Linked DNA regions of Homo sapiens: region 1 is linked to region 2. The links are contacts of gene promoters, found by promoter capture Hi-C in blood cells and fetal thymus (Javierre and others, 2016). All regions are on one chromosome and are shown on one strand. The core of a region is centred on a gene start or on the middle of the fragment in contact, and the rest is flanking DNA. Distances in the headings are between cores, read along the strand shown. Region 1 overlaps NCOR2 (nuclear receptor corepressor 2). Region 2 holds the start of NCOR2 (nuclear receptor corepressor 2).

Region 1 (4,477 bases), core at 952-3,451, 160 kb after region 2:
TGCCATGGTGTAAATAAATCCTCTCACCGTGCCCAGTGCCACGTGACAACGTGCTGCCGCTGACTTGGAACTGGGGAAAGATGCCCCTAGCACCAGGCTGTCTTATCCTGTTCTCACCCTGTGCATGGAGTTGGCGGAAGTCACCTCCACGGCACGGATGACTTCGTAGCTCCATGTAGCCAGATGATCAGGAAGCAATGCCCTTGGAGTGCTTGTAACCTTCGCTTTCTTTCTTTAAAAAAAATTTATTATTTTTTTAGAGATGGAGTCTCGCTCTGTCACCCAGGCTAGAGTGCAGTGGTGCAGTTGAAGCTCGCTGCAGCCTTGATCTCCCAGGTTTAAGCTTTCCTCCCACCTTAGCCTCCTGAGTAGCTGGGACTACAGGGATGCACCACCTAATTAAAATTAGCACCACCAGCTAATTTGTAGTGACAGGGTCTCACTGTGTTGCCCAGGCTGGTCTGAACTCCGAGCCCTAGACAATCCTCCTGCCTGGCCCTCCCAAAGCACTGAGATTACAAGTGTGAGTTACCTTGCCAGGCCATAATTTCTTTAATTGTAAGGTTAAGTGTTTCCATTTTTAATAATGGCCATGAGCTGGTAGCCACTGGCTCCAGCACGCCTTGGTATATCTTTTTTTATTTATTTTTGTTTGAGACAGAGTCTCACTCTGTCACCCAGGCTGCAGTGCAGTGGCGCGATCTTGGCTCACTGCAAGCTCCGCCTCCCGGGTTCACACCATTCTCCTGCCTCAGCCTCCTGAGTAGCTGGGACTACAGGCGCCCGCCACCAAGCCCAGCTAATTGTTTGTATTTTTAGTAGAGATGGGGTTTCACCGTGTTAGCCAGGATGGTCTCGATTTCCTGACCTCATGATCCGCCGGCCTCGGCCTCCCAAAGTGCTGGGATTACAGGCGTGAGCCACCGCGCCCCGCCACGCCTTGGTATATCTTATAAAAAGACAACCCTTAAACGCACTGAGATGGCCTCCCCTGACTGCATTTTCCCCAGCAAGGACAGGAGACTGAATCCGAGGGACAGAGAGCAGGTGTTAGGGAAGAGCTGCCAGCAACAGGGAACCCTGTTCTGCCTCGGCTCTGACCCCTGGCCCCACTTTCCACACCAACCCCAGGCTCCTGGAATCCCCATCCCTACACTGCCAGGAGGTGGAAGGTGTCATGAGGATGCGCCCTCTCAGGGGCACCTGGCACATGGTAGATGCTCAGTGAAGTGTTTGTTGAATGAGTGCATGAGATTGAGCCACAGACGGTGTTGCTGGGTTTTGGGAAGTTCTCCTGACACATTTGTAAGGACTTAGCATCTGAGAATTAAATCTCATCAACCCCTACGTGGGTGGTCGCAGCACCTTCTCACTGGACTGTCTCCTCTCATTCCCGGAATCCACCGTCTTCCTTCCTGCGACCTGCTATTGGATTGCTCTTTAACATGGGGTGGGTCATGTGACTCCCTGCGACCCCTGCACCTTTTGAGAAAGGTCCCCGGGGGCTCCCACCGCCCTCAGAATGCCTCCTGTATTTCTGAGCATGGGTGTTAGCCCTGGCCAGGCCCTCCAGCCATGCCCCAAAGTGCCACTTGGTAGGCACAGGGGCCATTTTCCCATTGCCATGCCGCAGAGGCCTCCTGCTCTGCCAAAGCCCCTTCCCTCGCCCTGCATGTCAGCACGCCTTGCTGCCTCATCTGCATCATGAATGTGCCTTTTGAATGTGTCCTCGTCACCGGCGCCTCCATCTGGCCTGTCTTTGTCAACCTAAATACAAGCTCCATACAGTTGGGGGCCACATCTTTCTGTGGCTGGTGTGCCCCTTGGGGGTTCAGGTTATGCTGGCGGAAGGAAAGAATCAGGCAATGGCATCATTTGGTTTAAATGGGCATAGGGAGGAGGCTGTGAACCCCCAGCCCAGGGCGGAGGTAGGGCACCTGGCTGTAGGACCTTCTAGGAAATGCTGTGTGACCTTGGATGAGTTACTTAAACTCCCTCTGTCTTTGCATTCTCATCCATAAAACTGGGATGATACCAGTTGTTGGGAGGATTCAAATAACAGGTAGGAAGTGATTAGGAGAAGAAGGCCTCATCAAATGTGCTCAGCGAGCTTTTGCTGTTTTTAATTAAGATATTTTTCTGCATAGCCCCCAGTCTGGGGCTTCTGCACAGGCCCAGTCATGTGCTGCTTGTCTGGCAGGCTGAGGGTTATGGGTTCAGTGTCCAGATCTGGGGGCAGGTGTCTCTTGGGGCTTTGGGCCAGTGGCTCTGGCTAACCATAGATCCAGTAGGGTTTGTCACAGAGTTGTACTGTGGTTTGGGGGGATGTTTCTGACCACGCACAGGGCACAAACCCACTGTCAGCCTGACCAGTGGCACATCTGAAAGGCAGAGGTAGCCCTCCACCACGAGGGCGGGGTCCTTTGAGATAGTGGAGCTGGCTTCTAGTTCTTTCTGATTCTCCTTTCAGTCCCCTCACGTTGAGGGAATGGTGCCCACAGGCGTTTTCTGCTGCACAGAGTCCTTTATGTGCCTTGTGAGACAAGGATTCTTGAAGGCCTCACTCCTCAGTGGGATCTGAGGCCAGCCGTGGCAGCTTCTCCTGGCGCAGGTTAGAAATGCAGAGTCCCAGGCCCCACCCCAGACCGACTGAGTGGGAATTGGCAGGGGATGTGTGTGCACCTGCAGGTGTGGGTAACACTGGCCTGGAGCAGAGTGCTCTAACGAAAGCCCACAGGCCAAATCCGGCCCACCACCTGCTTTTGTAAATAAAGTTTTATTGGCACACAGCCGTGCCCTTTTGTTGATATAAGGGCCGCTTTCACAAGACAGTGGCAGAATTGAGAAGGGGGTTGACAGAGACGGCATACTTATCCTCTGGCCCTTACAGAAAACGTTTGCCAGTCCCTGGTAAAGCACTGGTTCTCAAATCTGGCTGCCCATCGGGATAACCTGGAATTTAACATACGAACGCCTGGGTCTCCGCCCAGAGATTTGGATGTCATTGGTGTGGGGTGCGGCCTGGGCATCAGGACTTCGCAGGGCTCCCCACGAGATCTGAGTGTGCAGCCAATGTCATGGGACCTTGAGAACCATGGCCCCCAGTGGCCCGGGAAGCCCAGCAGGTGCAGTTCTGCCGCTCTATGGACAGGCCCAAGACCCAGCAGCCCAGCCTCGCCAGTGTCGGCTGCTGCACTTGCTGCCCTAAAACATAGAAGGCTTTGGGGGCTGAGCCGGCTGCCGGGTCCCCCCAGCTCCTCAGGGGGAGTTGTGAGCTGGGACCTCCCTCTCCCTGCATAATCTCCCAGCAGCGAGTATGAGCGGCCCTCAATCAGTCCCTCGGCCTCCCGGGTGGCCACTGCGAGACCCTGCAGATGTTCATCATTAAGGCTGCCGGGGTCTGTCCCACTGGAAAGCATATTTTAAGGCCAGGGCTGCTCTGCTATTCCTCCTTTTCATCTTCCCCCACCGGACTCACTCAGCGTGGGCTGCAGGGATGCCTCTCCCACAGGAGATGTTGAGGCCACAGGAAGTGAGGAGCCTGTGCACAGGGCCCTAGGCCTTGGCTGCAGGGTGGCCCAGAAGGTGCTGTGCTAGTGGGTGTTGCTGCACCCACTCCAACCAGAGGGTGAGGGTGGAAGGCACCCCTGCCCTGGGGGCTTGTTAACATGTCAGGGAAGAGGAGGCGGCAAGGCTTGGTGCCAGGATTGCACTCGGTGCCTCAGTTTCCTGTTCTGTAAGATGGACAGGTGGGTGGGTAGGGGAGACCATGTGGGACGGAGCCAGGCACGTGGTGCCATGAGCGATCGAATATGGAGACATAGGGGGTGACGTTCCAGGAGCGAGGGGGTTGTGGGCAGGCCCTGGCGGGGCTTGTAGAGTCTGGAGTGGGAGGCAGGTAGGGATAGGTAGATGGGGCGTGCTGGCAAGTCTGCAGAACACAAACTGTAGATCCTGGCTGGGGGTTGGCTGAGACTCTCAGCGGGGGCTCTGGGGGCAGCAGGGCCCCATCCCCCACACTCTGGGCCGTCAGCCTTTGCTCCGAGACCTCGAAGCTTTGCCTCTCTGAGCCTGTTTCCTCCTCTGCAGAATGTGACCAGTGATCACTGCTCTCCTGTTTCTGAGGCTGGGATAGTGTTTGCAAAGCACTTGGCATGGTGCAGGGGTGTTACTCGTGGCGTTTTCATCTCCATCAGGACTTCAGAGGGGCCAGGAGCCGGCCCATAGAAAATGGACAGCACAGTGCTGGGCACATAGTCAGCTCTCGGGGATCTGTGGGGATTTTCTCCTCTGTACCAGCCTCTTCTTCCTTGGGGCTTTTCTGAGGACTTGGAGGAGAGCTGCGGTGGGGAAGGCTCGTAGCTCAGGGCCTGGCCCAGATGCATCCCTCTCCCAACTGGCCCCTGCCTGCGGCCTGATGGGTGTGGAGCTGCATTTACTGGCCATGCCGGAGCAGACATTAGCCTGATTCGTTGGT
Region 2 (4,552 bases), core at 1,423-3,922:
AGGAAGGAATGGTTGAAGGATTGGGCCGGAGATGGTAGAGACAAAGCCCAAGGGGCAGAAATTGGCGCCAACTGGACGGGAGCCCCCTGGATATATATACAGCATGCTCCAGCCAGCTGCAGCCTGGCCTGGGACACATACAACATGCTTCCCAGTGTCCCTGGTGACTTCCCAACTGAGTCTCCCTCTCCCTTCCTGTAAAATGGGTATGTTGAAAGTCTTTCCCTCACAAAGGCAATTGAGATGTTTGGGAAGCTCTTAGCTGTTACTGTTACTAACTCACAGTCCAGGGGGCCCCCCCGGGAAGGCTGTTTGTGTGCAGTGTTCTTTGGCCGCTTTTTAAAGGTACTGTTCCCATTAGTTGCTCATGGACTGTCACTCAGAGCCCAGTAGAAACAAAGTAGCAAACTAGGGTGCCGGTCTGCGATTGGGGGAAGGGGCGGGCTCAGCTGAGACCTCCCCAGAGTCCAGATTTCCAGCACTCATTTGGAATCACGGGCTGCTGCTGGAGGCTGGCAAGTCGGGTTCTTCATCTCTCCAGGCCTGTTTCCCTACTTGGGACCAGGCCCCTTGCTTCCCCCAGGGTAAGTGCTCACTCAGTGCTGGTGTTACTCCCCGCCGTCTGTGAGGGTGAGATTAATAACCCAATTCAGCCAGGAAACAGGAGCAGACGGGAAAGGGCCAATCCCTTTCGGGATAAACGCTGCCCTTCTCCTGGCCTCAGTCTTGCCATCTGTGACATGGTCGGGCCAGAGGCCATTGGCGCTTGAGTTGATAAGGCTTCCAGTGAGGGATTTCTAGGTGACGCTTGGGACATTACAAAGCTGACAGACCCCCTGCTTTCCCCGCTCCTAAGCCTGCAGGGAGCCCTCGAGGGCAGAAGCTGGGAGACCCCTGAAGACACCCCAAATGTCCCTCCTCCAGCTTCAAATAGAGCTGAATCTCATGGAAATGCAAATTCCCAGAGGGTTTTCAGGTGACAGAGGAGGGCTGCCAGGCGGCCTGGGGCTGGCAGAGGAGCTCCCCCGCCCCCGCTTCCCTCTCCAAGACCCTTGGTGGGGGAGGTGGGGGATCAGGCCTTCCTTCTGCGGCTCCAGCTTTTTGCCTGTGGATTCGGACCGACTGGCTGGGCAGAACTGGAGCTGGTCGGGCCAAAACAAGGAGGTGGGGGGGGGGCACTGACCTATGACCCCTCCTGTTTCAGTCTGCAAACTGCTCCCCTCCACACCCACTTCCCTTTTGCCAGACATTGTCAGCCCCAGAGGCTCCCGCCAGCCCCCCAAAAGCTCATAATTAAAAGCCCGAGGGGGCAGAGAAGGACCTGGCTGCAGGGGAGCCCGGCAAACCCAGCATCCTGGCGGAGGCGGGAGGCCCGCCGGCCTCTGGAAACCACGCGGCTGCCTCCCCACCGCAGCCATTCCCCGCTCTCCCTGGGGGTTCTCAGATGTTGCCAGATGGCAGAACTGAATCTGCTGAGACGTCACTCCAAAAAAGGAAAGTTGAACTGAAAAAAAAAAAAAAAATTCAAACTCTCCAACATCTTAGGAGAAAGCAGAAGAGGAGGGAGGGAGGGAGGCTCCAGGCCCAGGGCTCCCAGTGCCCTCTGCTGTTCAAAGAGATCTGCCCTGGTTGGAGAGGGCAAACCTGGAGGGGGTGGGAGGAGGGGGTAAATGAGGACACTGGGTTGTCAGGGCGGCCAGGGGGGCCAGGTTCCTGCTGGAGCGGAGAGTGTCTGCCTGTGCGTGGGGGAGCGAGCACATGTGTGCCGTCTGTGACTGCGTGCTTGTGCAGGCCGGGCGTGTGTGGCTCCCAGGGTCACGCTTTGGGATGTGTGTGTCTGTGTGTGTGTGTGGGGGGGGCGGGGGGGACACAGGCTCGTTGCATTGTCTCCGCATTTGTGTCCCTGAATGTCCCCAAGTGGGACTTCACTCAACACATTCGTGAGTCCCTACTGCGATAGGGCAGTGAACAAAATAGAAATCTCTGCCCTCAGGAAACTGGCATTCTAGCGTCTGTGTCCTCCGGGGTGCTGTGAACTCGCGTGGGTGTCCCAGTATTTGTCTGTGTGAGATCTGACATCTCCGGTCCGTGGTGGGTGGTGAGTCTGCAGTGTGTTCGCCCGGGCTGGGTCTCGGGTCTGGGGAGGCCCAGCGTGTTCCTGCCTGGAGAGGGCTCTGCGCTACTGTCTGCTCCCGTCCCCAAGTGCCCCACTGGGCGTGCTCCTAAAAGGCCCTGTGTAGGGCCCTCCCTGCGCGCCCCCTCCCCATCCAGCGGCCACTCCAGAGTTATAATTTAATAGCTGAAACGCGATTCCAGTGAGGTACTGGGGCTGGAGAGGAGGAGGAGGGCCCCCGGGCCCGCAGGAGAAGAGGGAGGGGAAGGCTGGGAGGCGCTTCCCCCCTCCTTCCTCCTCGGGGAGCTGCCAAAAAGAAACTCGGCGTCGCGCCCAAGTGTGTGCGTGCGTGTCTGTGTGTGTGGCGGCGTGCGCGCGCGAGTGGGGACGCGCAGGGCCTGGAGAGAAGGCGCGGGCCCTTTAAGGAGCCAGAGGGGGCCGGGCCGGGGCGCGTCGCTGCGGGCGGGGAGCCGGGAGCAGGGAGGCCGAGCCACCGCCTCCCGGGCTCGCGCCCCGCCCCCTCCTCCCCCTCCCGCCGCCGCCGCCGCCGCCGCCGCCGCCACCGCCGCCGCGGCCGCCGGGGAGCGCGGAGCCGCGGGCAGGCCGGGCCGCACCGGAGCCCCGCGTCCGCCGGCGCCCCGCCCGAGCCCTGCGCCCGCGCCCTGCGCTCCGCGATGCGCGCCAACTTGCGGGCCGGGGACCCAGGGCCGGCGCCCTAGGAGGCGGCGGCGGGAGGATCGCGTCCCGACCCGAGGCCGGGCCTGCTGCGCGCCCCCAGCCCGATCGGCACCGCCACTTGCCTGAGCGCCCCGGCGGCCCGAGCGCGCCCCAAGCCCGGGCGCCACCGCTGCCACCTCCGCGAGGTGAGTTGGGGCCGAGGGTCCCCGCGAAGGGCGGGGGGAGGCGCGGAGCGCGCTTCCGGGGGATCCGGGGAGGATCGGGCGGCGCACGCGGCGGAGTTGGCGGGGCCCCTGCACTCCCGAGTTGGCGCTCTCGGGGGGTGGCCTGCTGGGGAGCAAGGCGCCCCGCCGACACTGCGGCCCGCGTGCTCGGGGGCGCCGGGGAACTTAGGGGAACTCCAGCTCCCTAGCGAGGGGGCGGGAAGGAGGGAAGTGGCGTTGGGGTGGGCGGGGGGCGCGCTGGAAATGCACAGAGCGGCCCCCCACAGTGTGCGCCGGCTCTGGGGACTTGGCCGCCAGGCGTCCCTTGTACCCGGTGTAGCCCCGGACCTGGCGGGGCGACACTGCGCCTTATTTTCCATCGGGCAGCGCGGGTTTGAAAGCCCTTGGAGATGGTACCCCTAGCTCCCTGGCCTGGCTGTTGTGGAGGGGCGCATGAGGGTCTCTCACCAGCCGAGGGGGAGAGCCAGCCTTGTCCCTCCTAGGCGTGGGGCCACGGGGCGCTGGGCGGGGTCCCTCGGGAGAGTCGCCCCTGGTCCCCCTCCCCCGCGGGCCGGTGTTCCTGGTGTCTGGGCCTGCCTCCCGTGGCTGGTGACGCCTCATTGGGCCGCCTCCTAGTCCCTCCCCCGGGCTGTGCGGATACTTGGGATGCCACTACTTTGCGAAGTTGGAATTCAGAGCTGATCCCACTTGGGCACGACTGGGAAGACCCAGACCCTTGTCTAGAGGGCAGCTTCCTCAGAGGCCTGCGGGGAGTGAGGGCACCCGTGGGGTACGCCCTCCCCGCCCCAGACACTTGCAGGAGGAGCAAGCCGAGGGCGGGAGGGCACGGCGGGCGGGAGGGAGAGACAGGCTGTACCTGGGAGCTGCTGTCGCCCGGGCCCAATTAGCGTGGGGCGCCCGGCGTTATTTTTACATTGTAGGTTTATTTTTTTGGAAGCGAGTGTCCTCCCGCCGCCTGTCGCGCGCTCCGGCTCTCCGAGGGTCTGGTGCAGGCAGCGGGGGCGGATCTGTTCTGTCGGCTCAGCCTCCTCCCTTCCTCCCCCTCCTCCTCTCCCCCGTTGGTGAGAACTGGTTTTATTGTGATTATTATTATTTTTCCCTTTTTGCAGATTTGGAGGAAGGATGTGTGAGGGAGGGAAGAGGGGAGGAGGGGATAAGGGGAGGACCCTGTGGGCGGGGTGGGGGAGTTCTGGGCGCGTTGGGATGTGTTACCGGTGGCCTTGACTTTGCCCCTTTTCAGCCAGATCTGGGTCCTTGCGGCAGCTTTGATATAAGGGGCTCTCCGGGCCAGACTGCGCCGGGAGGGCGACCCGGGGCAGGCTGTGTACCTCGTGGGTGGCCTCTTTGGGGGTGCTGAGGAGGGGCCGAGAAATGGCAAGCAGCAGTGAGGTGGGATGGCCCACTCTGCACCTCAGCTCCTGGGGTTTGACTCTGACCTTTGCCACTTTCCTGGCAGTGTGACCCTGGACAGATGCTTAACTTCTCTGTGCCTGTCAGGTTTCCCATCTGCAAAATGAGGGTCAAAATGGTACTGAGT

The links. Contacts are between HindIII fragments. The CHiCAGO score rates a contact against its expected background, and 5 or more counts as called.
Region 1: a contact is called between a fragment that was not itself captured here and the fragment with the promoter of NCOR2 in region 2, in 1 of 17 cell types (M0 macrophages). The highest score is 5.4, in M0 macrophages.

Annotation. Positions count from the first base shown.
Region 1 is chr12:124,404,531-124,409,007 of GRCh38, reverse strand. The region is part of intron 15 of NCOR2 (nuclear receptor corepressor 2); the gene reads left to right. Among named protein-coding and RNA genes, the nearest start is that of MIR6880, 70 kb to the right of the region's middle. The HindIII fragment of the contact is 3,712 bases long and covers 346-4,057 here.
Region 2 is chr12:124,565,732-124,570,283 of GRCh38, reverse strand. NCOR2 (nuclear receptor corepressor 2) reads left to right here and starts at 2,672. Exons shown (of 49, transcript NM_006312.6): 1 at 2,672-2,976. RefSeq lists enhancers at 359-1,219, 1,220-2,080, 2,247-2,296 and silencers at 2,417-2,666, 2,777-3,136, 3,157-3,266, 3,407-3,626, 3,827-3,926. The HindIII fragment of the contact is 7,570 bases long and covers 1-4,552 here.